Regions from separate parts of the Homo sapiens genome. Here all the other regions are linked to region 2. The links are contacts of gene promoters, found by promoter capture Hi-C in blood cells and fetal thymus (Javierre and others, 2016). All regions are on one chromosome and are shown on one strand. The core of a region is centred on a gene start or on the middle of the fragment in contact, and the rest is flanking DNA. Distances in the headings are between cores, read along the strand shown.

What was found. Contacts are between HindIII fragments. The CHiCAGO score rates a contact against its expected background, and 5 or more counts as called.
Region 1: a fragment that was not itself captured here is called in contact with the fragment with the promoter of PGRMC2 in region 2 in 10 of 17 cell types (non-activated CD4 T cells, neutrophils, naive CD4 T cells and 7 more); the score reaches 13.6 in non-activated CD4 T cells.
Region 3: a fragment that was not itself captured here is called in contact with the fragment with the promoter of PGRMC2 in region 2 in 4 of 17 cell types (activated CD4 T cells, non-activated CD4 T cells, total CD4 T cells and 1 more); the score reaches 6.2 in activated CD4 T cells.
Region 4: a contact is called between a fragment that was not itself captured here and the fragment with the promoter of PGRMC2 in region 2, in 1 of 17 cell types (non-activated CD4 T cells). The highest score is 7.7, in non-activated CD4 T cells.
Region 5: a contact is called between a fragment that was not itself captured here and the fragment with the promoter of PGRMC2 in region 2, in 1 of 17 cell types (total B cells). The highest score is 5.2, in total B cells.
Region 6: a contact is called between a fragment that was not itself captured here and the fragment with the promoter of PGRMC2 in region 2, in 2 of 17 cell types (megakaryocytes and M1 macrophages). The highest score is 9.0, in megakaryocytes.
Region 7: a fragment that was not itself captured here is called in contact with the fragment with the promoter of PGRMC2 in region 2 in 1 of 17 cell types (fetal thymus); the score reaches 5.6 in fetal thymus.

The regions. Positions count from the first base shown.
Region 1 is chr4:127,960,998-127,964,593 of GRCh38, reverse strand. All of the region lies in intron 1 of MFSD8 (major facilitator superfamily domain containing 8), which reads left to right. Among named protein-coding and RNA genes, the nearest start is that of MFSD8, 2.4 kb to the left of the region's middle. RefSeq lists silencers at 55-104, 115-244, 355-464. The HindIII fragment of the contact is 1,861 bases long and covers 843-2,703 here.
Region 2 is chr4:128,285,342-128,289,092 of GRCh38, reverse strand. It overlaps PGRMC2 (progesterone receptor membrane component 2), which reads left to right and starts at 1,280. Exons shown (of 3, transcript NM_006320.6): 1 at 1,280-1,720. The coding sequence starts at 1,303. RefSeq lists silencers at 1-279, 651-840, 1,161-1,340, 1,351-1,400, 1,581-1,640. The HindIII fragment of the contact is 4,970 bases long and covers 1-2,824 here.
Region 3 is chr4:128,765,991-128,769,437 of GRCh38, reverse strand. No RefSeq gene overlaps it. Among named protein-coding and RNA genes, the nearest start is that of JADE1, 42 kb to the left of the region's middle. The HindIII fragment of the contact is 209 bases long and covers 1,262-1,470 here.
Region 4 is chr4:128,784,176-128,787,907 of GRCh38, reverse strand. No RefSeq gene overlaps it. Among named protein-coding and RNA genes, the nearest start is that of JADE1, 24 kb to the left of the region's middle. The HindIII fragment of the contact is 373 bases long and covers 1,272-1,644 here.
Region 5 is chr4:127,866,228-127,869,812 of GRCh38, reverse strand. No RefSeq gene overlaps it. Among named protein-coding and RNA genes, the nearest start is that of PLK4, 13 kb to the left of the region's middle. The HindIII fragment of the contact is 1,328 bases long and covers 863-2,190 here.
Region 6 is chr4:128,557,079-128,560,910 of GRCh38, reverse strand. No RefSeq gene overlaps it. Among named protein-coding and RNA genes, the nearest start is that of LINC03140, 12 kb to the left of the region's middle. The HindIII fragment of the contact is 696 bases long and covers 1,715-2,410 here.
Region 7 is chr4:128,709,334-128,713,316 of GRCh38, reverse strand. No RefSeq gene overlaps it. Among named protein-coding and RNA genes, the nearest start is that of JADE1, 98 kb to the left of the region's middle. The HindIII fragment of the contact is 1,428 bases long and covers 817-2,244 here.

The DNA.
Region 1 (3,596 bases), core at 524-3,023, 320 kb after region 2:
TGCGCGCCGCGCTTGCGGGCCAGCTGGAGTTCCGAGTGGGCGTGGGCTTGGCGGGCCCCGCACTGGGAGCAGCAGGCCGGCCCTGCCGGCCCCGGGCAATGAGGGGCTTAGCACCCGGGCCAGCGGCTGCGGAGGGTGTGCTGGGTCCCCCAGCAGTGCCAGCCCACTGGCGCTGCGCTCGATTTCTCGCCGGGCCTTAGCTGCCTTCCCGCGGGGCAGGGCTCGGGACCTGCAGCCCGCCATGCCTGAGCCTCCCACCCACTCCGTGGGCTCCTGTGCGGCCCGAGCCTCCCCGATGAGCGCCGCTCCCTACTCCACGGTGCCTAGTCCCATCGACCACCCAAGGGCTGAGGAGTGCGGGTGCACGGCGCGGGACTGGCAGGCAGCTCCACCTGCAGCCCCGGTGCGGGATCCACTGGGCGAAGCCAGCTGGGCTCCTGAGTCTGGTGGAGACGTGGAGAACGTTTATGTCTAGCTCAGGGATTGTAACTACACCAATCGGCACTCTGTATCTAGCTCAAGGTTTGTAAACACACCAATCAGCACCCTGTGTCTAGCTCAGGGTTTGTGAATGCACCAGTCGACACTCTGTATCTAGCTACTCTGGTGGGGCCTTGGAGAACCTTTCTGTCAACACTCTGTATCTAGTTAATCTAGTGGGGACGTGGAGAACCTTTGTGTCTAGCTCAGGGATTGTAAACGCACCAATCAGCGCCCTGTCAAAACAGACTACTCGGCTCTACCAATCAGCAGGATGTGGGTGGGGCCAGATAAGAGAATAAAAGCAGGCTGCCCACCAGTAGTGGCAACCCGCTGAGGTCCCTTTCCACAGTGTGGAAGCTTTGTTTTTTCGCTCTTTGCGATAAATCTTGCTACTGCTCACTCTTTGGGACCATACGGCTTTTATGAGCCGTAACACTCACCGCGAAGGTCTGCAGTTTCACTCCTGAAGCCAGCGAGACCACGGGGAGGAACGAACAACTCCAGACGCGCCGCCTTAAGAGTTGTAACACTCACCACGAAGGTCTGCAGCTTCGCTCTTGAGCCAGCGAGACCACGAACCCACCAGAAGGAAGAAACTCTGAACACATCTGAGCATCAGAAGGAACAAACTCCAGACGTGCCACCTTAAGAGCTGTTAACACTCACCGCGAGGGTCCGCAGCTTCATTCTTGAAGTCAGTGAGACCAAGAACCCACCAATCCCGGACACAAAGCCACCACATTCTGTATCTTCTGCATTCCATATTTGGCCCTTTGTAGCTGATCACTTTCCAGATTTCACAGTTTCAAAATGATGGTTTTAATAGATACTTGAAGGTATCGGTCTTAGTAATGACCTGCTGCCTAATTGCCTGACAACCTCTTGATAGTTTAACAAATCTGTCCAAAATGAGCTCGCCTTTGTCCTATGCCAAATGTACAAAGAAAGACTAATTTTAAGGCATTAAAGGAATAACGTCAGTATTTTGATCCTTATAATTCTGGTTGTTCTGATCCTAGTTTATGGGCAGTGACTCGGGAATGTATACCTAATGTATTTTTACCTTTAGGAAAACGGAATTACTATTTTATTTGAAATATACATAATAATTACCTCAGGTAAATTAATAAATTCAGTTAAACTTCAGCTGTCTATGACCATAATAATTTTTACTCATTTGTTCCCCTTAAGCACCAACCTTTTGTGAGCACTCTAACTCAAAACCCTTTGGCAAATGTATTTCTCTGGTCCTCGATTTACTAAACAGAGTTTATGCAATGCAGTTTTATCTTTACTTGATTTTATCTTGAGATCATTAAAATGAGTTTAGATGCTGATATGAATTTTAGTAGAGTGATGTCCTGAGAGCCTATTGAGACATTTGGGACTGTTTGCTTCTATACCAATTTATTTTACACTGCTATACTTTTTTTTTGAGACGGGGTCTTGCTCTGTGGCCTAGTCTGGAGTGCAGTGGTGAGCCTGGAGTGCAGTTTTATCTTTACTTGATTTTATCTTGAGATCATTAAAATGAATATCGATGCTGATATGAATTTTAATAGAGTGATGTCCTCAGAGCCTATTGAGACATTTGGGACTGTTGCTTCTATACCAATTTATTCTACACTGCTATACTTTTTTTTGAGACGGGGTCTTGCTCTGTGGGCTAGTCTGGAGTGCAGTGGTGCGATTTTGGCTCACTGCCACCTCTGCCTCCCAGGTTCAAGCGATTCTCCTGCCTCAGCTTCTGGAGTAGCTGGGATTAACAGACGTGGGCCACCAGACACGGCTAATTTTTGTATTTTTGGTAAAGACAGGGTTTCACCAGGTGGCCAGGCTGATCTGGAACTCCTGACCTCAAGTGATCCACCCACCTCAGCCTCCCAAAGTGCTGGTGTAGAAGCAAACAGTCCCAAATGTCTCAATAGGCTCTGAGGCCCGTTGCTATACTTTTTAAGTACTTACGTCTGCTTTTTAGTTTTTCTGACAGACTGTTTTCCTCGCAGACTGTTCTGCATCATGTTTTTGAAATCTGGCAGCAACAGTTGTTTTATTGTTGTTGCTGTCACCATACTCTTTCCACCAGCTTTAATTTGGGGCTTCTTGTTTGTTATAGCTTTGATAACCCTGGATCTATGCTTAATGTAACTGTGTGTCATTACAACCTGGTAGTTCTGACTGAGAGCTAAATGTCTTTCCTACTAGTTAAGTGCATAAGCTTGAGTGCGTGGACTTCATGACATTTGGTTTTCTCAGAACTCAGAAATTCTTTTTTTTTTTTTTTTTTTTTGAGACGGAGTCTCGCTCTGTCACCCAGGCTGGAGTGCAGTGGCGCAATCTCGGCTCACTGCAAGCTCCGCCTCCCGGGTTCACGCCATTCTTCTGCCTCAGCCTCCCGAGTAGAGTAGCTGGGACTACAGGCGCCCGTCACCACGCCGGGCTAATTTTTTTTGTATTTTTAGTAGAGACGGGGTTTCACCGTGTTAGCCAGGATGGTCTCGATCTCCTGACCTCGTGATCCGCCCGCCTCGGCCTCCCAAAGTGCTGGGATTACAGGTGTGAGCCACCGTGCCCGGCCTCAGAATTCTTTTTGCTTCGTCCTGGTTTTTAGCTATTTTCCAGATAATTGCAGGATCCCTGAGTTATGTTTAAATGTGGTCTTCTGGTACATTCTGTCACCTTGTACAAAAGAGAATTTTTTTTCATACTCTTAGCTTTGATTTCATCAAAGTGATTGATGCTCATTAGGATCTGTCCAGATTTAGGTGTTCCTGCCAATAATCAATACCTCTGATTGAGGTTCTAGATTTAGCATTTTAAAAACAAAAAGGGAGTATTTTGAAAATAATAAGTATATGTCTTTAAAAACAAGTATATTCCCTAGTAAAGTGAACCTATGTACAACTAGTTGGCAGGACCTGTTCACTTTGAATATATTGCACAAACATGTCTAGGTCACCACCAACTTTTCCTCACTAACAAGGTTGATTATTATTTGCTGGTCTGGTGGAGCTGGCCTCTTGAATCCTCAGTGCTCCCCACTGACCCCCTCTATGGAGCTTTATTTAAGACAACAGGGGTTGGAAAACATTTCCTGTAAAGTCCCAGATTGT
Region 2 (3,751 bases), core at 31-2,530:
GCACAAATACCCTAGCCTACTAACTGCTTTCCCACTCTTTCCCCAGCCTCTAATCCTTCAGACACCTGGTTGCTATACAGCCTCTCTACAAGAGTGTCGACCCTGTCACTTGCCTCGTCAATATCCTCAGTGACTCCTACAAAACCGACAGTGAAAGGTTCAAACCTATTCTATGAGACTCAAGACAACAGACAACAAAGGGCAAGAGAGAACACGTCAAACGAGTTCGTCAAACGAGTTGAGTGCGTGAGACTTCAGAGGTCACTTTTTCACACTAGAATTTCAAGGTGTGAGAGGCTAAAAGACGTCCAAGTACATGAAACAGAACCTGCAAATAAGAGTGAATGACGAATAGAAAGACCACCTCAACCTGTCCACTTCCCTACGGCCGCAGAAGTTATGATTCAAGGAATAATGAGACTCTAAATCCTTTAAAATTCTACAAGAGCAGCCTTTGCCAAACCCAGCGGGGAGTGGCTGCTCGGTGCCAGCGCGAGGAGCACGTAGACTGCCGATGCCAGAGAAGCCCGGTGCGGGTTCCGTGCTTTCTCTCCGTTCCAGGAAGACCCCAGCTCGTGGCCAAATCTTCTTGCCGCTTCCCGGTCTGCGCGCCTACGCTGCCGGTTTCCCGACAAAAGCGACGGCGCCCTGGTGAAAAGCAGACGCCCCTCATCGGTTTGCGCCTTGCAGCTCAACTATGCCCCAGCCTCCCACAAGCCACCTGCCCGCGTCCTCCGCCAGGCGTCCAGCCCGGACCTGCCCCCGCGGCCGCCAAGGCGCACGTGAAGCTCCCGGGCGGGGGGAGCGCAAGGAGGCGGGAGTTTGCGGACGCGAACGCAGGCCTAGGAAGGGAAGCGATTCCAGGGCGCACGCGCAGAGCCTGGAGACTGGGCGGGGCGTGCCTCCCGCAGGGGTTACGAACGAAAGGCGAGCGCGTGGCGCTCAGGAGCCCGCGCACGCGCTGTGGTCTCGCCCCGCCCATGAGCGTCCGCGCGGCCGTCGTAGCATCTTTTCTTCAGACCCGCCCGGCTCGTCTACTTAACCTAGCGGAGGCTTGGAGTGAGAGCAGGGAAGTGTGGGGCGAGGTGGGCGGGGCGTTGCACGCGTGCGCGGCCAGCGAAAGAAGGGAGGGGGCGGGAGATCCGAGACAACGTTACCCCGTCAACACCCAATCAGGAGCCGGCCTGACCCCGCCCCCTCTTCTCACGTTATTGGCTGAGAGGCCCCCAGATGGGCGGGGCCGGCCGTGGGGTTGGGGAGGGCAGGGGGCGGGGAGGAGGAGGAAGGCGCTGGCGGGCAGTGATGGCGGCTGGTGATGGGGACGTGAAGCTAGGCACCCTGGGGAGTGGCAGCGAGAGCAGCAACGACGGCGGCAGCGAGAGTCCAGGCGACGCGGGAGCGGCAGCGGAAGGGGGAGGCTGGGCGGCGGCGGCGTTGGCGCTTCTGACGGGGGGCGGGGAAATGCTGCTGAACGTGGCGCTGGTGGCTCTGGTGCTGCTGGGGGCCTACCGGCTGTGGGTGCGCTGGGGGCGGCGGGGTCTGGGGGCCGGGGCCGGGGCGGGCGAGGAGAGCCCCGCCACCTCTCTGCCTCGCATGAAGAAGCGGGACTTCAGCTTGGAGCAGCTGCGCCAGTACGACGGCTCCCGCAACCCGCGCATCCTGCTCGCGGTCAATGGGAAAGTCTTCGACGTGACCAAAGGCAGCAAGTTCTACGGCCCGGGTGAGGAGTTGGAAGGGGAGGGGAAGGACCCCCTGCAGCTGAAGCACAACCCCCTTCGGACAGGGAGGCCTCTGGGCACCGGGTTAGTTTGCCCAGCCTTCTCGTCTCCGGGACCCCCGCGCCTCGGCCGCCGCACCTGGGACGGCCCATCCCGCCCCTACACACACACCGTCCCCCCGCAGCTACGGGCACCTCCAGTTCTTCCCCCGAAACCAGGGTCCCCGGTGGCGCCCCAGAGACCAGCTCTCAGCATTCATCTTTCTTCCATCCCATTTCTCCTCGCAGCCTTTTTTTTTTGTTTCTTTGGCTGGATTTTTCAAAATCGTTTTAGTTGTCACAGGTCAACGCTGGCCCTTAACCTTTTTTGAGTCTCCTGATTCCTGGGATGGATGGGGCACCAGGGAAGGGAGATTTCTGAAGTTGGGACCTAAACTAAAGTTTTGGGCTCTGTAATTCACCGTTTTCTTTTCCTTGCCCCCTTTTTTTTTTTTTTTGCCACTGATCTCCTTTTTTCCCTCGCTGTATTACTCCGTAAGGCCACGTTTAGGGGCATGTAAAGTCCCAACCCTCCAGTCTCTGAAGTCCAGACGTATAAGCAACACCTCGGACTCTCTTTAAACCAGTTTTAGTTCGGAGTTGCTTTCCATGATTAACAAGGTATGTGGGATGAGAACAGACCAGAATGCAGAGCTTATTAAAGACTGGTAAGGATATTCACCTTGAGTTTTGGGGGTGGAGCTCCTATACCCAGCAGGCGTGTCTCTGGTTTCTTTTTTCTTTTTTTTTCTCTTTTCAAGTACACGTTGATAATGACTTGTGTTTTCACTTAGCAGAACTAAGGAGAAAAAACTTAGAAGAGTTGTAGATTTATACCCCCATGTGCCAGTTATGCAAGTTAAAGATTTTTAGAACTTTGTTTTGAGAGAACTTTGTTTTCAGGGAACTTTGTGTAGGGTAGTTGATTTAGACGCCCTTTTTTTACAGTGTGGTTGTAGCATACATTTTGGATTATGTTAATAAACCCCAGACTCATGGAACCTGTTGGTATATCATACAGTTGAGCAACATTGTGCATCCTGGTTGTGCACTGATTAATACTAAGCTTTAAAAAAAAGTGGTGACTACAATAAGAATAAATAATTAAATTAGAGACCTAAAGTGACCTGTTATTGGAGAGAGTACCTCCAAGCCTTAAAGTCATAGGGTTGGCAGTCTGGAAGTAAGCTGGTTTTCTCCTTAATTTAATCTGTAGGTGTATAAGATTTATTGACACTTAAAAATATATACTTCTGATTTCAGTGCTTGATAGCTGGAAGATATTTTAGAAGTGCTTTGGTTTGTAGTTTGTTCATTGGAATAGGGATAAGAAATAGGAGATTTTTGGTGTTGAATTATGTAATTTATTTCTTAGTTGTTTGTACTTCTGTGTATATATACACATTTAATCCAACCAAGTAAATACATAGCTTACAGAGTTTTTGCTTCTGGTTACATAAATGTGAACACAAGGTGTCTGCCTACTTATATCAACTGAAATGGTTAATACATTTTTGTTTACTTAAGCACACGTGGGACAAGAGAACAGGGCCAAAGTACAGTATTTAAACAGGCCAAGCGAAGTAAATTTTTTTTAAATCAAGGATTTAGACAGCATTTTATACCTAGTTCAAGCTTTTCCCCCATTGGTATTAAAATGTGTTAAGTGATTAGAAATCCTGTACAGGTTTAAATTTTTAATATAGACCTTACCCAGCTAAAAGATCAGCTTTTGTACCCTGTCTGAACTGCCACTGAAGAAAACAAAGTATTAGTACAAAGAATCGTATTAGTCCTCACACATTATGCCTTGGCAGTATCTGAAAATAGCTAAGAGAGACAGTCATAGAAACAGTTTGGCAGCCTCCAGTGGCAAACGTTTGTTCTGTGATAGAAATTAAAAATTAAAGCCAGGCGTGGTGGTTCATGCCTGTAATCCCAGTGCTTTGGGAGGCCGAGGCGGGTGGATCACCAGAGGTCAGGAGTTCGAAACCA
Region 3 (3,447 bases), core at 117-2,616, 480 kb before region 2:
TGAAATAGACTATGGAAGCAAGAGTTAGTTCTGTTTAAGAGGTTATGATAACAATTCAGGTGAGACATGATTTATATTAGAATGGTGCCATGAGAATGGAGAAAGTGGATGAATTAAGGTATTTTGAAGGGAGAACTAATGAAACAAATGGATTGGGTGTGAGGGGTGAAAGAAGAAAGGAATTAACATGAATCCTAGATTTCTGTTTGAGCAACTGGGTGGTTAATGGGGTTTGTTATCTTATCTGTATCATTTTTGATAACTGAGTAACTGCAACTCCAGAACTAAGAATTTTGCTTACATATTAAGAAAAATTTCAAAGCCAAAACAAAAACTATTTTTGATATTGAATTTTCTTAACTTTTACATACATACTTTCCTTCAAGGGATAATTGAATGAAAAGGACTTCTTTGCAAACTTCAGACTAGCCCTATAGTGAATGGAAATAATCTTCTTCTCTTCAGAATAATAGCTTATGCATGCTTTCTGACAGTGGATTGCCCTCTTAGGGCTGCCATTTTGTCCTGAGATTTGATGACTCTGGTTCTCCCTTTAGGAGATTGCTATGAAAAGGCAGAGAACCATTGGGGCCTGTTCAATAGGGCACACCTGGCTCTCTCCGTCTCCCTCATCAAGGCCTGTGGGGCATGATGAGAACTGGCATCAGCCTACTGATGCTGAGATTTGTTTTGAAGCATTCGAAGAGGAAGCGAATGCTCAGGGGAAGCTTTAAATTTCTTTCTACTTACAGAAGTTGAATTGCAAGAGCTATCTCTTTACCATTAATCACCAGGTCTAGTGTGAAGCCAGCCAACTTCAGAGAGTTAGTTAAAAGAGATGACTAATGACTCAACTCTCTCCTTATCTCACGCTCTCTTCAGGTTTGATCTCACCAGACACTCAGGCTGCACTTACCCACTTGAACAAGAGCTCTTCCAGTGTTCTGCAGTATTGAGGGAGTTCTGCGTTTAAAGGGGCCTGTCCTGTACCCCCGTCCAACTGACTGATGGGGAACTTCAATGCCCAGCCTGGGATATAAGTGGGGCCGAAGGTGGAAGAGTGAGAGTACCAGGTCTCTATACATGTCCAACTTGACCGTGATGGTTTAGGCATGACCTAGAATCCCTAGGAGGTCTTGATCATTTCAGTTTAAAATGACTCTTATTATATAGGGAATCTTTTTTGAAGTTAGTTCTTCTAAAAGTCTGCTTTTGGTCTCTGCTCACGGAGTTCTGTAAGAACTTATTTTAGAGATAAGCTTTCAAGGCTATCCCAATTGTTCCAACTTCAATGATCAAAACATCTGAGACTGTGTTTTGATTTGATTTCTTTGTAGCTATTTTATCACAAGGTTTTCAGAGTTTTAGATTATACTAAGCAATTACTGGTTACCTTTCCACAGATTCATTACAAAACCCCTGATTATATATAACCAAGTATTGCTCTCTCAATAATATTCCAGTGAAGCTTGTTGTTCAAATCTTATACGTTTCCAATGATGTCTTCTCTCCCTCATAAATAAGGGGCTCCCTCTGCTCCCCTCCACCAGGGCTGCTCACTCCCAAGAGGCCTTTTCCGGCTTCCAGTCAGGTACATCTTAAGTAATGAAGTCAATAGGGAAGAATCAAGGATGGAAATGTACCCAGTTTATGTCGATGGACTTGTTTAACTATTTAAGGCTGTATCTCACAGTCTAGTGTGTTGCAGTACGTTTTGTAAAGAGTGCTTGTAATCCCCTGAGCTTTCAAAATAGCTCTCTTTCCTATTAAGCCTGCATTGAGAAATGGGGTTAATTTGCCAGAGTACTTTTTTGTGATAATGACAGGACTTGCAGATTAGCTTGAGTGAATTGGCAAGGTTCTGTAACTAATAAAAAAATACACAAAAAAATTATAAAATTCGACTGCTTCAAGGTTCCTCATGAGAGAAACATTAAATATTCCTGATAGGCCAGTTTTGAGTCCACGCTAGCACATTAATAGATACTTAGGGAAAGATACCTTTCAAGTGACATATGACCCAACATTCCCATAACAGGAACTGTTCTGCTATTCAGAGGCTTGAAACTTATAGTAGTTGAACTAATAACGGATAAATTTCGTGAATTAGAAAATGCCTAATAAATTTTTTAGGTGATAATTATTTTGCCAGCCAGGCTATACGGCTCTTTGCTTTATTAGACCCATATACGAAATATTAAAATTCTGCCCTGAACTCTAGGAACACATTGCCATTTACTTAATGAACATGTGTTAAGTGCCTACCGAGTGTTAGGTACCATGCTAGGATCAGAAGATGAAAACCCCAACGTGTAATCCTGTCTGAACACTGGTGCTAAGAGATTCTGTAACCAACATTACTTTGGATTGGTTAAAACTATCTTTCTAGTTGCATGTGGTTGAACTTTGAGGACTGGGAAAGAATGGGTCCACTGTCCTAATGGTTAGAAGCCTCTGGCCATCAGTGTTCATTACTGGCCATTTATTAGCTGCCTTGGGAGCCTCGGGGCAGGTTCCAACCAGATACATAGTTATATTAACACTGGAAGGTGCTAAGACATCTGCCTTCGAGTTTGGCAAGCTCACTCATAACACCAAAGGAAGAGAAGAGAAACACTTTCTGTGTCTCTGAGCAAAGACCTCTTCTGTGTTTAGCAAAAACCAACCAAACCAATCAAATACTTCCTCAGCTGGAAGACAAGAAAGAAAACTTTTTTGTTATACATAGAGGGGGATGGGTCACATTTTTACAGGGTTTCATAGACCACTGACTTCATGACCCCCCCTTTTTTTTGTGATGACCCTTTTTTTGAGAACAGTTTTAGATTTATAGAAAAATTAAGACAGTAGAGAAAGTTCCCATATCACTTCTACCACCTCCCTCAGTTTCACCTATTATTGTATATTACCATTAATGACAAATATTAAAACATGATTAATATCTAAAATCCATACTTATTTAGATATCCTTACTTTTTAACCTAATGTCTTTTTTTGGTTTCAGGATAGTACATTATATTTTCGTGTCTCCTGAGCCACCTCTTGGATATGATAGTCTCAGAATTTCTGTTTTTTCAGCCGGGTGTGGTGGCTCATGCCTGTAATCCCAGCACTTTGGGAGGCCTAGAAAGGCAGATCACCTGAGGTCGGGAGTTCGAGACCAGCCTGACCAACATGGAGAAACCCCATATCTACTAAAAAAATACAAAATTAGCCAGGCGTGGTGGCACATGCCTGTAATCCCAGCTACTCGGGAGGCTGGGGCAGGAGAATTGCCTGAACCTAGAGGCAGAGGTTGTGGTGAGCCGAGATTGCGCCTTTGCACTCCAGCCTGGGCAACAAGAGCAAAACTCTGTCTCAAAAAAAAAAAAGGAATTTCTGTTTTTTCTTTCTTTCTTTCTTTCTTTTTTTTTTTTTTTGAGACAGAGTCTCAGTGTGTTGCCCATC
Region 4 (3,732 bases), core at 209-2,708, 500 kb before region 2:
TCTACTGGGCCAGCCAGGAACGGCTGTGGCTGGAGACCGCAGTACTGTATCGGGGCCCTGAATGTCGGAGCTGTGCTTTGAAGCTGTGCCCCGGACTGCTGGTCTGGCAGGGCCTGGGTGGGGAAGAGGAGGCCTGCAGAGAAAAGTTGCAACCCAGAGGTCAGGGCAGCTCATCTTTGGTTGCTAAAACTGCGTGAAGGGCAGCAAAGTCGGGAACCTCGCACGTGCCAGTGTGGAGAGCAGGCCACCTCACTCCAGCACTCCAGGCTTTTGAGACTTCCTTCCTGCATCTGGACACCATCCCAAGCCAAGAGCACCAACTGAGAGTTGGACTTTGATAGAAGACAGAAAAATACAGTTAACAGGAAATTTAAGAACACTCTTGCCCCACATCCAAGCTGGGCAGGGGGTTTAGGAATAAGACCAGTTACAGCAAGTTTTATTTATTTATTTATTTTTATTTTTATTTTTTTTTTTTGAGTTGGAGTTTCACTCTTGTTGCCCAGGCTGAAGTGTAATGGCACAATGTCGGTTCACTGCAACCTCCACCTCCTGGGTTCAAGCGCTTCTCCTGCCTCAGCCTCCTGAGTAGCTGAGATTACGGGTGTGTGCCACCACAACTGGCTAATTTTTTTTGTATTTTTAGTAGAAACGGGTTACACCACGTTGGCCAGGCTGGTTTTGAACTCCTGGCCTCAAGTGATCCACAGGCCTCAGCCTCCCAAAATGCTGGGATTACAAGTGTGAGCCACTGCACCCGGCCCAGTTATAGCAAATTTTAAAACAGTAATATATTACAACCAAAAATGAAATGTGAGGCTCTGCCACTCACTATTAATCAGTGTTTGGCTATGTCTTCATTGTACATTGATCAGTCATGTCACTACAATGTGGTGAATTTGCAGCTCTTATGCTCAGGATCCTCTTTGGGTTTTTACTGTACTCTTTGCTTAATACAGCCACAATTAGTTCTGCAGGTCAGTTAGGAGTCCCTTGGACGATCAAAGAGCAAGTTAATAAAGAAAGACCATTACGCCACGGGCTCAGCTCCTTCGGAGAGACAAGAATCATGCTGTGAATTGGTATTAAGGCCAGTGCATCATTTATTACATGCACAGAGCACAGTGAGGACAAGGGGTTCCTGGGGACAGACAAACCCAGACAGGGGCATGGCTTCTGCTTCCCTTCCCCCATCCTGCGGCTTCAGCACTGAGGGGCTCATAGCACTGGAGCAGCTAGCCTCGCAAGGCAGCTAGAGACAGGCCCAAGCTTATTCAGTCAGGGCCTGACCCATCAGCCAAAATCTCTCCCCAACCTCCCCTTCCTTATCTGCCATCCAATTCAATATATTCCCTCAAAGGCGGCTTTTGCAAATAGAAAAAATTATTAATATTCAGGTCAGCGTGGTGGCGTGCACCTGTAGTCCCAGTTACTCTGGAGGCTGAAGTGGGAGGATTGCTTGAGCCTAAGAGATGGAGGCTGCAGTGGAGCCGAGAGCATGCCACTACACTCCAGCCTGGGCAACAGAGTGAGACTCTGTCTCAGAAAAGAAAAAAAGAAAGAAATTATTCAGAAGTTGCCTGGCTTTGAAAATTAATATTTGACTTTACAAAATCAAAACCTTCGAGGATTTTTCTGTAAGCTTATAAATTCAACTTATAAATTGTACAGATATAGCTAAATTTAATCACTTTTGAGGAGGGTTTTGATTAATGTTTGGTCAAATTTATACATTTACTTAATTGGTGGGGCGTGGTGGCTCACGCCTGTAATCCTAGCAGTTTGGGAGGCCGAGGCAGGTGGATCAATTGAAGCCAGGAGTTCGAGACCAGCCTGGCCAACATGGCAAAACTCTGTCTCTACTAAAAATACAAAAATTAGCCAGGCGTGGTGGCACATGCCTGTAATCCCAGCTACTTGGGAGACTGAGGCAGGAGAATTGCTTGAACCGGGGAGGCAGAGGTTGCAGTGAGCCGAGATTACGCCACTGCACTCCAGCCTGGGCAACACAGCAAGACTCTATCTAAAAAAAAAATAAAAACAGCTGGGTGCGGTGGCTCACATCTGTAATCCTAGCACTTTGGGAGGCTGAGGTGGGCAGATCACCCGAGGTTGGGAGTTCGAGAGCAGCTGACCAACAAGGAGAAACTGCGTCTCTACTAAAAATAGAAATTAGCTGGGCATCCTGGCACATGCCTGTAATCCCAGCTACTGGAGAGGCTGAGGCAGGAGAATCGTTTGAACCCGGGAGGCGGAGGTTGTGGTGAGCCGAGATCACGCCATTGCACTCCATCCAGCCTGGGCAACAGGAGTGAAATTTTGTCTCAAAAAAATAAATAAATAAAATAAAAACATACAGAATAGGCTGGGTGCGGTGGCTCAAGCCTGTAATCCCAACACTTTGGGAGGCTGAGGCAGGCGGATCACCTGAAGTGGATAGTTCGAGACCAGCCTGACCAACATGGAGAAACCTTGCCTCTACCAAAAAAATACAAAATTAGCCTGGCGTGGTGGTACATGCCTGTTATCCCAGCTATTCGGGAGGCTGAGGCAGAAGAATCACTTGAGCTCTGGAGGCGGAGTTTGTGGTGAGCCGAGATCGCGCCACTGCACTCCAGCCTGTGCAATGACACTGAAATTCTGTCTCAAAAAAATTTTTTTAAATAAATAAATAAATAAATAAATTTACTTAACCTACTTTAAGTATTTTATCTGCATTTGTAAACTTAAAGTAATTAATTTATTTTGTCAAGTACTTCAGTTGTATGACTGACAAAAATTCCTTTTCAAGTATTTATGTGATTCATATATATGCAATCGATTAATCTTAAAAATATGTTAATTTTAGGTTCTTTTAAATGTCTAATATTACATTTACATTTTGAAATATTTCCACTTAAAATCACAAATGTAAGTCAATTACTTAGATCATATGTTTTAAATAAGTACTACACGACTAATATATTTTTCTTTTTTCTTTTCTTTTTTTTTTTTTTTTTTTTTTTTTTTGAGAAGGAGTCTCGCTCTTTCGCGCAGGCGGGAGTGCAGTGGCGCGATCTCGGCTCACTGCAAGCTCCGCCTCCCGGGTTCACGCCATTCCGCCTCCCGGGTTCACGCCATTCTCCTGCCTCAGCCTCCAGAGTAGCTGGGACTCCAGGCGCCCGCCACCACTCCCGGCTAATGTTTTTTTGTTTTTTGTTTTGTTTTGTTTGTATTTTTAGTAGAGACGGGGTTTCACCGTGTTAGCCAGGATGTTCTCCATCCCCTGACCTGGTGATCCGCCCGCCTCTGCCTGCCGAAGTGCTGGGATTACAGGCGTGAGCCACCGTGCCCAGCATGTTTGATTTTCTTAATCATTTCTATATTTAATTGTCAACCTACCTAGGTTTAAAATACATATTGCTTTAAGCCGGGTGTGGTGGCTCACACCTGTCATCCCAGCACTTTGAGAGGCCAAGGTGGGCGGATCACCTGAGGTCAGGAGTTCGAGACCAGCTTGGCCAACATGGTGAAACCCCATCTCTACTAAAAATACAAAAATTAGCCAGGCATGGTGGTGCGTGCCTGTAATCCCAGCTACTCAGGAGGCTGAGGCAGGAGAATCCCTTGAACCTGGAAGGCGGAGGTTGCAGTGAGCTCAGATCGCACCAGGGCACTCCAACCTGGGTGACAGAGTGAGATCTGTCTCAAAAAACAAACAAATAAAATAAAATAAAATAAAACACTTATTGC
Region 5 (3,585 bases), core at 277-2,776, 420 kb after region 2:
GCAATCACAAAAAGACAAATGCTGCATGATTCTGCTTATATGAAGGATTCAAAGAAATCCAACTCATAGAAACAGTGAGTAGAATGGTATTTGGCCCCTTCTACCATGGAAGGGGGAGGGGAAACAGGTAGCTGTTGTTCAACTTTTAGCTCAACTTTGAATCATGAAAGATGAAAAAGTTCTACAGATGTATTGAATTGCAGTGTGCATTTAATTAGTAATACTGTACTGTATGTACACTTAGAAATTGTTAAGAGGGTAGATTTATGTGTTTTTAAAAATATATATTTATGTATCTTTTAGAGAGGGGGTCTCTCTATTTTGTCCAGCAATCTTCTCACCTCAACCATCCCCAGCACACACCACTGCACTGGCCTCTGTGGTGTTTTTTTGTTTGTTTTTCTGCAAAGGAAAAAAAATCGGTCTCGTAAGCCAGACTCTTCTCCTAAAATGCAACCCACTGTATGTGCAGGTGTCATCATTCTATTTGTGCTGCCTGGTAAGAATTAGGCCTCAGGGAATAGGCACAAAATTGCTGATAGCCAGGCTACTGCTATTTTTTAAAAAATAAATTGTTCTTCACCCTTGGTCCTGGAGTTTTATGTATACTACCAAAAGTTGGGTATTTGCCAACTTTACCAGCATCAGTGAGACTGTGTCAGGCTGAGTTACCTTGCAAGTAGGGCAAAATCCAAGACTCTTCAAAGTTTGTGACAAGTTTACAGATAAAATAGATTTTGTTGATTTCCTGATTATTCCTCCATTTCTTGAATAACACTGCTTGGTGATCATAAATTAGTAATTTATTTATTTATTTTGATATGCATAGGGTGAGGCCTGGCAGGGTCCCAAACATGAAGCTTCTGTGTCATCAAGATGCATCACCCTCCTGGCACATTAATTTTTGTCACCAATGAGAAGACTGAGCTTTAGTGTTGTTTTTACTGGGGTTTCATTACACGGACAAAATTGATTAAATCACTGGTCACACGATTGAACTCAATTTCTAGCCCCCTACTCCTCCCTGAAGGTTGGGCTGATTTCACCTTTCAAAAAGCCCAACTCTTTAATCACATGATGTGTCTTTCCATCACGGCGAGCCCACAACCTGAAATAAATTTATGTTTTTATCCCTCGCCACTCCCCACCCTTTCCCCTGAGTCCCCAAAGTCCATAAGTCCATTCTATCATTTTAATGCCTTTGAATCCTCATAGCTTAGCTCCCACTTAAGAGTGAGAACATATGATGTTTAGTTTTCCTTTCCTGAGTTACTTCACTTAGAATAATGGTCTCCAATTCCATCCAGGTTGTTGCAAATGCCATTATTTTGTTACTTTTTATGGCTGAGTAGTATTCATTCCATGGTATGTATGTAATTTCCTAGATTGACTCACAGCCCTCAAGAAAGTGCTATACTTGCAACAGTTTTATTATGGTTTACAGATAAAGTAGATTTTGTTGATAGAAGACACACACAGAGACACACGCACACACGCACACACACAGAGACAACAGCTTTATTATGGTTTACAGATAAAATAGATTTTGTTGATAGAACATATATATATGTATATCTCACATTTTCTTTATCTGCTTGTTGATTGATGGGCATTTGGGCTGGTTCCATATTTTTGTAGTTGATTTGTGCTGCTATAAACATGCATGTGCAAGTATCTTTTTCGTATAATGACTTCTTTTTCTCTGGGTAGATACCCAGGGGTGGGATTGCTGGATCAAATGGTAGTTCTACTTTTAGTTCTTTAAGGAATCTTCACACTGTTTTCCATAATGGTTGTACTAGTTTACATTCCCACCAGCAGTGTAAAAGTGTTTTCTTTTCACCACATCCATGCCAACATCTTTTAAAAAAAATTTTTTTTTTATTATGGCCATGCTTGCAGGAGTAAGGTAGTATCCCATCATGGTTATGATTTGCATTTCTCTGATAATGAGTGATGTTGAGCATTTTTTCTTATGTTTCTTGGTCATTTGTATATCTTTTGACAATTGTCTATTCATGTCCTTAGCCCACTTTTTGATGGAATTGTTTTTTTCTTGCTGATTTGTTTGAATTCCTTATAGATTCTGGATATTATAATAGTCCATTCTCAGATGTATAGATCGCAAAGATTTTCACCCACTCTGTGAGTTGTCTATTTACTGACTATTTCTTTTGCTGTGCAGAAGCTTTTTAGTTTAAGTAAGTCCCATCTATTTATCTTTGTTTTTGTGGCATTTGCTTTTGGGTTCTTGGTCATGAAGTCTTTGCCTAAGCCAGTGTCTAGAAGGGTTTTTCCAGTGTTATCTTCTAGAATTTTTATGGTTTTAGGTCTTAGATTTAAATCTTTGATCCATCTTGAGTTGATTTTTGTATAAGGGGAGAGATGAGGATCCAGTTTCATTCTTCTACATGTGGCTTGCCAATTATCCCAGCACCATTTGTTGAATGGTTTTCTTTGCTTTGTTGAAGATCAGTTGGCTGTAAGTCTTTGGGTTTATTTCTGGGTTCTCTATTTTGTTCCCTTGGTCTATATGCCTGTTTTTTTGTTTTGTTTTGTTTTTTTGAGACAGAGTTTCACTTCTGTTGCCCAGGCTGGAGTGCAGTGGCATGATCTTGGCTCACTGCAACCTCTGCCTTCCAGGTTCAAGCAATTCTCCTGCCTCAGCCTCCTGAATAGCTGGGATTACAGGCACCTGCCACTGCCCCTGGCTAATTTTTTGTATTTTTAGTACAGATGGGGTTTCACCACGTTGCCCAGGCTGGTCTCGAACGCCGCCTGCCTCAGTTTCCCAAAGTGCTGGTATTACAGGCATGAGCCACTGCGCCTGGCCTATATGCCTGTTTTTTATACCAGTACCATGCTGTTGTGGTGACCATGGCCTTATGGTATTGTTTGAACTCAGGTAATGTAATGTGGTGCCTCTAGATTTGTTCTTTTTGCTTAGTCGTGCTTAGGATATGCAGGCTCTTTTTTGGTTCCATATATGAATTTTAGGATTTCTTTTTTCAGTTCTGTGAAGAATGGTTATGGTATTTTGATGGGAATTGCACTGAATTTGTAGATTGCTTTTGGCAGTATGGTCATTTTCATAATATTGATTCTACCCATCATGAGCATGGGATATGTTTCCATTTGTTTGTGTCATCTGTGATTTCTTTCAGCAGTGTTTTGTAGTTTTCCTTGTAGAGGTCTTTCACGTCCTTGGTTCAGTATATTCCTAAGTATTCTATTTTATTTTTGCAGCTATTGTAAAAGGGGTGGAGTTCTTGATTTGATTCTCAGCTTGGTCATTGTTAGTGTATAGAAGGACTATTGATTTGTGTACATTAACTTTGTATCTTGAACTTTTGCTGAATTTATTTACCAGTTCCAGGAGCTTTTTGGATGAGTCTTTAGGGTTTTCTAGGTATATGATCATATCATTGGTGAACAGTGACTGTTTGACTTCTTCTTTACTGATTTGGATGCCCTTTGTTTCTTTCTCTTGATTGCTCTGACTAGGACTTCCAGTACTATGTTGAATAGAGGTAGTGAAAGTGGGCATCCTTGTCTTGTTCCAGTTTTCAGGGGGAATGCTTTAAC
Region 6 (3,832 bases), core at 813-3,312, 270 kb before region 2:
TCTGTGTAGATATCACAACCCAAATCAGACCCACAGGAAATATGCTTTAAAAGTTGTCTGATGTAACCCATTTAAAGCAAAAGATGATTCCTTTTTTTTTTTTTTTTTTTTGTCATAAAGAAAATGGCTCTGCTATATTTCCTCCATTTCTGGTAGATTTTTGTCTTTATTGATAAGATAATGCATATTTGAACCTCAAAAATTTGGAAGCACTGAAAGAAGGGGTGAAGGGCAAGTGATGGGTTTAATGGAACAATGCAATTGTGTGAGAGTTCGTTATAGAATTAGGGGAGCGAATCATGTATGTTGTTACTTCTGTGTGATCACAATGTCAAACAATCCAGCCCACATTTGAAGGAAGGATAAAAACTAAGATTAATGTGAATGAAATGAATAAAACCAATCACAAGTCAGTGGGCCTCAGGATGTTACATAGTAATATGTCATAAGTATAATATTTTCTTTTCTTTGTAGAATTAGATGCTAAACCTAGAAGATGAAGTTATTTTCATGAAATCATTTCTGAACTACTGATTTTAGACACAACTCCTCTTATAAGTACTCACCATTCTGAAAATAAATGCTTAGTTTGAAGTTATTCTGTAAGAATATGTCCTCATATCTAAATTACCCCAAACTTTACATTTTTTTTAAAAGAGATGGGGTCTCACTCTGTTGCCCAGGCTGGAGTGCAGTGGCATGATCATGGCTCACTGCAGCCTAGACCTCCTGGGCTCAAGCAATCCTCCTACCTCAGCCTCCCGAGTGGCTGGAACTACAGGCATGTGCTGCCAGATCTGGCTAATTTATTTTTTAACTTTTTAGAGATAGGGTCTTGCTATGTTGCTCAGGCTGGTCTTGAACGGGGGCTCAAGCGATCCTCCTTCCTCGGCCTCCAGAGTAGCTCCGATTGGATTACAGTCATGAGCCACTGTGTCCAGCTCACAAACTTTATATTCTCAAGGCTTCACATAATGAGGCTAAAAGGTTCTTGTATATTCTCAGTCATTTTAGAAGAGACAGAGGGAGTTGGCTGAAGGAAAGAGTTCCTCTTACCCTGAAACCTTCGTTACGACAGACAAACGTCTGGCAGCTTCAGCCTTCCACAGATACCTTACATTTACATAGTATCTGGCAGTGTTCAAAGGGCTTCAGTAATGGTGCAGGAGTTACAGCCTTGAATCAACTGAGGAGGCAGAATCAACCAGCTCCAAGACTATTACAGACAAGCTTGTGGCCTCCAGCAAGCCATGCAGTCTCTCTGAGCTTTAAGCTCCTCATTTATAAAACAAGGACATTACATATACCATCTCGACATCTTTTCTAGGCCTAGGATTCAGCTGTCTTGCCCTCCTAGCAACGGAGTAATACAATGCCGCCACTCTGGCAACTGAGCAGAGGTTGGGGAGTTTGGCAAGCTGAAGAACATGTTTATGAGCTCAGAGCATGGTTAAGGCTGACGTGCAAGTCGTTCAGACAAAGCAGAAAGAAAACCACTTTCAGAATACTCTTTGTGATGTGTATGCAATTTACTTCCTAAAAAAAGACAGAGTATTTTCACGGCTGGTGTGAGTCCAAACTTGCCATAGTCTCAGGCAATGCGTCTGGCTATTTTAAAGTGCTAAGAAGTTTAGTGACAAGTGCCCTTCCATTTCATCTTTTTCAGAATTATTAGGCTTTGGGGATGAGGAGAAGATGTGGGGGAGGGGAAGCTTGAGTAATCCTTTCAGGAGCTTCTTCTTACTTTGGCACACGGACAGTTCTCAAGAGGAAAGAAGATTTTTTTTTTTCAACCATATAGTTTTCCATGAACAGGAAATTCATAGCAAAACATTTCCCTTTGTTTTGAGGTAGTCACCACACCACAACACCCAAGGGCCCATCCTGAGAGAGTCATCTGTAGATCTTTGTATTTTAGCCAGCATTCCTTGCCATATTGTTTATATAAAACACACACACCCCCCTAAACTCATACATCTAAATTCACACATGGAGGAAATTTAAATGCAAATATTTTTTCATATACCTATATATGTATACTAAAAGCAAGTTCATATAACAAGATTAGTCACAATTACGTAATATAAAAATTCTGACCTTGTTCAAGTTACCCTAAGAATGTAGTACTGTGATTGTCAACTAAGGTCATGGGCACTTTGGTATGTCTGAGAAAGCTCTGTAAGTGTGCTAACAAATTTTGAACAACATGCAACATTGATTTTGGTGACATCTGCGTAGGAAGCCTGTTCTTACGATGTCCATCAGATGGACCACAGAGCTCAATGAGCAGAGGCAACATGATGTAGAACAAAGGAGCAACTTCTGGGAATAGAACATAGGTGGTGACCACATGAGGCCTGGAGAATATAAGTCAGATCAATACATTGTTCTATTCAACAGTAGCAAAGCTTATCACTTTTCTTATCACTTTAAAATTGATAAAATTTATTGATAAAAGTGATAAAGTTTTTATATTATAGAAATGATTGTTTTATTTTAAATTTCTTTTTTTTAGACAGAGTCTCGCTCTATCACCCAGTCTAGAGTGCAGTGGCACGATCTCGGCTCACTGCAACCTCCGCCTCCCAGGTTCAATCAATTCTCTTGCCTCAGCCTCCCAAGTAGCTGGGACTACAGGTGTGCATCACCACACCCAGCTAATTTTTGTATTTTTAGAAGAGATGGGGTTGTGCCATGTTGCCCAGGCTGGTCTTAAACTCCTGGCCTCAAGTGATCTGCCCACCTCAGCCTCCCAAAGTGCTGGGATTACAGGCCTGAGCCCTGGCGCCCAACCAAAATGATTGTTTTATAATTGTTGTTGACTTGTTCATTTTTAATTTCTTCAAATACACTGATAAGAGTCTTAACATTTGCAAATATGTTATAAACACAAATAAGGGTAAGAAGCATCGTTATAAGAAAGCATTTTGGGTTTGGTCCTGACTTTCCTACAGTGTCCCAAACATCAACACCCCTTATGCTCTGGTGTGTCTCCTGGGGCTGCTGAGCAATCCAGGTGCCTCCTGAGCTTGCAGAGGTCATAGAATAAGGCTCTGCCAAGGAGGGCTTGAATGTCTGCTGAAGGGGCAGACATTCCCCCTATCTCTTATCCAGGGAAAAGGGGTCCCTGGATGGAAAAAGGGAGCCTGAGATAGATAGAAAGGGAAGACTCATCACTCTCTGGGACCTGGCCTATGGCTAAGTGGTAGAGGTTGATGATTTCCTCCAATAGAGGCAGAAACACAGTTAAGAGTTGAGTCTTGCAAACCAGATAGTCCATTTTTATGTTCTCCTTAGTATGTAGTTTTCTTTTGTTATCCCAAACTTTTTGGTGCCTAAAAATTTTGTTTAAAAGTTCTAGTTTGCAAGGCACAGTGGCTCATGCCTGGAATCTCAGGCTTTGGGAGGCCAAGGTGGGGGGATTGCTTGAGGCCTGAAGTTCGAGGCCAGCCTGGGCAACTGAGTGAGAACCCTTCTCCAGAAAAAATTAGCTGAGTGTGGTGGCATATGCCTGTAGTTCCAGCCACTCGGGAGGCTGAGGTGGGAGGATTACTTGAGTCTAGGAGTTCAAAGCTGTAGTGAGTTATAATTGTGCCAGTGTACTCCAGCCTGGGGAACAGAGCGAGACCCTGCCTAAAAAAAAAAAATAGTTCCAGTTTGGTCACAGCCATGCTGTGTGTTTTGGAAAATAAAGGAGACAGTTGAGTTTACCTTTGGATTAAACATTATTGGAGGAGTGTTCTGCAGAGATTAATGTGGGGACAACAGCACCATAAGCAAGAAACCCTCAAGGGAAAAAGGAACCCCAGGAACAAGTTTTGGCCATGATACT
Region 7 (3,983 bases), core at 281-2,780, 420 kb before region 2:
GCAGATCATTTAAAAGGGAAAGGAGAAGCAGCAGCAAAACAAACTGCCACACTGATTATGATGGAAAGTTACCAAAGTAATTAGGGTACTGATCTTTTGTTCTCCCAGGCAGCATTCTCAAAAGTCTTGAGGACTTTTTTGTTCTTCACTTGGCTAAATGTAGAAAAGTTTCTTGTTTGACTGTAATAATGTTTCAGTTTTCTAGGTAGGAGGTGTTTTTCCTGATTTCTAATAAGTATCAAATTGTTGTAATTACATTATTTGCAGTTTATGCTCCTCAGAACTTGTTAGGGCTTCTTCCTTCCTCTGACACTGAAACTTAACTTTCAAAAATTGTTCTTTCTTTTGATATCCAAGGAAAATAATTTGAATGATGATGCTACAGTGGTTTGGACTTTTAGGTTCCTTTTTCTCTTTGGATTACAAGGTTGACACTTAAAAAAAAATCTATGGGCCAGGCATGGTGGCTCACTCCTGTAATTCCAGCACTTTGGGAGGCCGAGGTGGGCAGATCACCTGAGGTCAGGAGTTCGAGACCAGCCTGGCCAACATGGAGAAACCCGTCTCTACTAAAAATACAAAAATTAGCCAGGCGTGGTGGCATGTGCCTGTAATCCCAGCTACTCGGGAGGTTAAGACAGTAGAATCGCTTGAACCCAGGCGGCGGAGGTTGTGGTGAGCTGAGATCGCACCATTGCACTCCAGCGTGGGTGACAGAGTGAGACTCCATCTCAAAAAACAAACAAACAAAAAACACAACTATGACTATTGTGGGCCTTCACAACTCTGAGACATCTCAGAGTAAGTTGACAAGCTTTTGTTGGCCAAAGAATGGGAGTTCCCTAGGACATCTGATTCTGTGAAGCTGTTCAGTAAGTTGGGAATTTTATCTGGAGCACAAAGTACCCAAACCCATTTTTTAAGTTAAGAAAGTGTGGTTTTTAAAAAAAATAGATTCACAAAATCTTAGACACACTTCTATGATTTGAATGTTCGTATCCTCTCCGAATTTTATGTTGAAACTTGCTTCCCAATGTAACAGTATTAAGAGGTGGGGCTTTTAGGAGATGATTAGGCCATGAGGGCTTCACTTTCATGGATAGGATTAAGGCCTTTATAGAACTTGAAGGAATGGGTTGGTCCCTTTTTGCCTTTCCATTTCTTCTGCAACATGAGGACACAGCATTCATCCCCTCCAAAGTGCCCAGCAACAAGGCACCATCTTAGAAGAAGAGATTGGGCCCTCATCAGACATCCAACCTGCTAGTGCCTTGACCTTAGATTTCCAGCCTCCAGAACTGTGAGAAATAAATTTCTATTCTTTATAAATTACCCAATCTCAGGTATTTTATTATAGCAGCTGGAAGAGACTAAGACACACACCTCCTTCAAAAGCTGTAGCCTAATTCCTCTCCCTTTGAATGAATGTGGGCTGGACTTAGTGAACTGCTTCTAATGAATAGAACATGGTAGAAGTGATGTCATGTTATAGCCAATGCTAGGTTATAAAAAGGATTATTTCTGCCTGGCTCTCACTCTAGTAGATCACTTGCTCCGGGGAAAGTCAGTTGCTAGGTCATGAGAGCACTCAAGTAGCCCTGAGAGAGTCTATGTGGAGAAAATCTGAGCCCTGCCCCCAAATCCAAGTCACGTGTGTGAGCCATCTTGAAAGGGGATCAAACCTTCAGATGACTGCAGCCTCAGCCAATAGCTTGATTCTAGTCCCATGAGAGACCCCAGGCACCCACTTAAGCTGCTCCAGAACTCCTGACTCATAAAACTGTCAGAGATAATAAATGTTTATTGTTGTTTTAAGCCACTAAGTTTTGGGGAAATTTGTTATGCAATAATAGATAATGAATACAGGCAGCAATTAGCAGAGGATACTGTTCTATTCTTGAAACCCTCTAAATGAAAATAACAATTAATGTACAATCAGATAATTATTTTTCCCCAGCTATTTACATTTTATTCTCATTCATTTGAATCACAGAAATTCCACCAAAAATGCTCAGAATCTCTACTTTTCCTTGCATCTGTACACATTTGAAAGGTTGATATGTATTATTTGCATGTGAATGCACGGATGTGTATGAAATAGGAACACCAACAAATAATAATAATAATAAAAAGAAAGGAAGAAAACTGAAAGTGAGGTACAAGAGGTACAAGCCCCCTATTCTCTTTAAATATTTTATACCTTTTATCTTTTCTGAAATACTTTTTTGTCTTGGAGAAAAAGCTTCCAAGCATGCCGATTGCTGTGGCTCAAGGTCCTAGCTTACTGTAGGACCTCTTGCTCCTTAAATGAATTTCTGGTAAGTCCTCATCTTTTGCCCTCTGACAAAAGTATCTTCTATGGCACAGATCTGAGTGTATCACCTTTTCACTTAAAAATTTTCAAAAGTTACTTATTGTATACTAGATTGAGGTCTGTCATTCCCCTGTAACACCCACCCCAATGCCTGCCCCACATACATAGTTGTGTACAGAGCTCAAAACAGGACATGTCTGGGAGAATGCTTTATAAGCTGTAAGGCATAGACAAGTATGAGGTATTCTTCTCCTTAACATTCTGTAATACCTCATAAAGTCTCCCATTTTCTAGGAGATTAGAATCTGCTGGCAGCCTGGGTTTAGTAGTATCTTTCTTTTTGGTGATAAGGTTTACTGGAGTCTTTTGAATTAACTGCTCTTTCCTACATAGCACAAAACCACTATATTTTCCTATCCCTTTGCCAATCTTTTTTGTTTGTTTGTTTGTTTGTTTGTTTGCTTTGAGACGGAGTTTTGCTTCTGTCACCCAGGCTGGAGTGCAGTGGCGCAATCTTGGGTCACCATAACCTCCACCTCCTGAGTTGAAGCGATTCTCCTGCCTCAGCCTCACAAATAGCTGGGATTACAGGCATGTGCCACTGCCCTCAGCTAATTTATCTATTTTGGTATAGACGGGGTTTCGCTATGTTGGCCAGGCTGGTCTCGATCTTCTGACCTCAGGTGATCCAACTGCCTCGGCTTCCCAAAGTGCTGGGATTATATGCGTGAGCCACTGCACCTGGCCTCCTTTTGCCAATTTTAATGATGAACTTGGAAATCTCTACTCATTTTTTGTTTCAAGAGAATTTCGAAAGCAAAGGCAAGTTCAACTCCTGTGAAGTTGGCTGTTAATGTAATCTATCTGAAATGGTGGATGGGAGTTGATGAATAGCATCTTTCTGCAAACAAGCAAACCATGAATTTCGTAAGTTTTAGGTCAAGCTGAAATTATATAAGGCCAATCATTTTTCAGCATTTCATTAACTGGGTGGGATCTTTGGTAATTTTTTGAATCTGTGCCAGTTACTAAGTTTTTTCTTTTTCTTTTTGTTTGTTTGTTTGTTTTTAGGCAGAGTTTCGCTCTTGTTGCCCAGGCTGGAGTGCAATGGGGCGATCTCGGCTCACGGCAACCTCTGCCTCCCGGGTTCAAGCGATTCTCCTGTCTCAGGCTCCCGAGTAGCTGGAATTACAGGCATGCGCCACCACGTCTGGCTAATTTTGTATTTTTAGTAGAGACAGGGTTTCTCCATGTTGGTCAGGCTGGTCTCGAACTCTTGACCTCAGGTGATCCACTCGTCTCGGCCTCCCAAAGTGCTGGGATTACAGGCGTGAGCCACTGCGCCCGGCCCTCCAGTTACTAAGTTTTTACTCTCAACTTTAAATCCCAGTCTTTGATATTCTGCTTTGCCAGTGGCTTCCCTTTAGGCTGTGTCAACAGTGGGTGCAGAGAGACTGCTAGGCTGTGGGAGGAAGAAGGGACTTGATCCTTCCTGTCTGTTTTCTCGTTGCTTCTTGTTTGGCTTCCTGTCTTCTTGTGCATCCGGTGAGCTTTGCTCCAGCAACACCTCTTCCTCCCTGAAGCAGCAGTTCCTTCCCATAGCAGCAGCTGAATCCACCTTGTAATTTTCCAACACCTGCAGAACCAGCTTCACCCCTGCCTCACCACC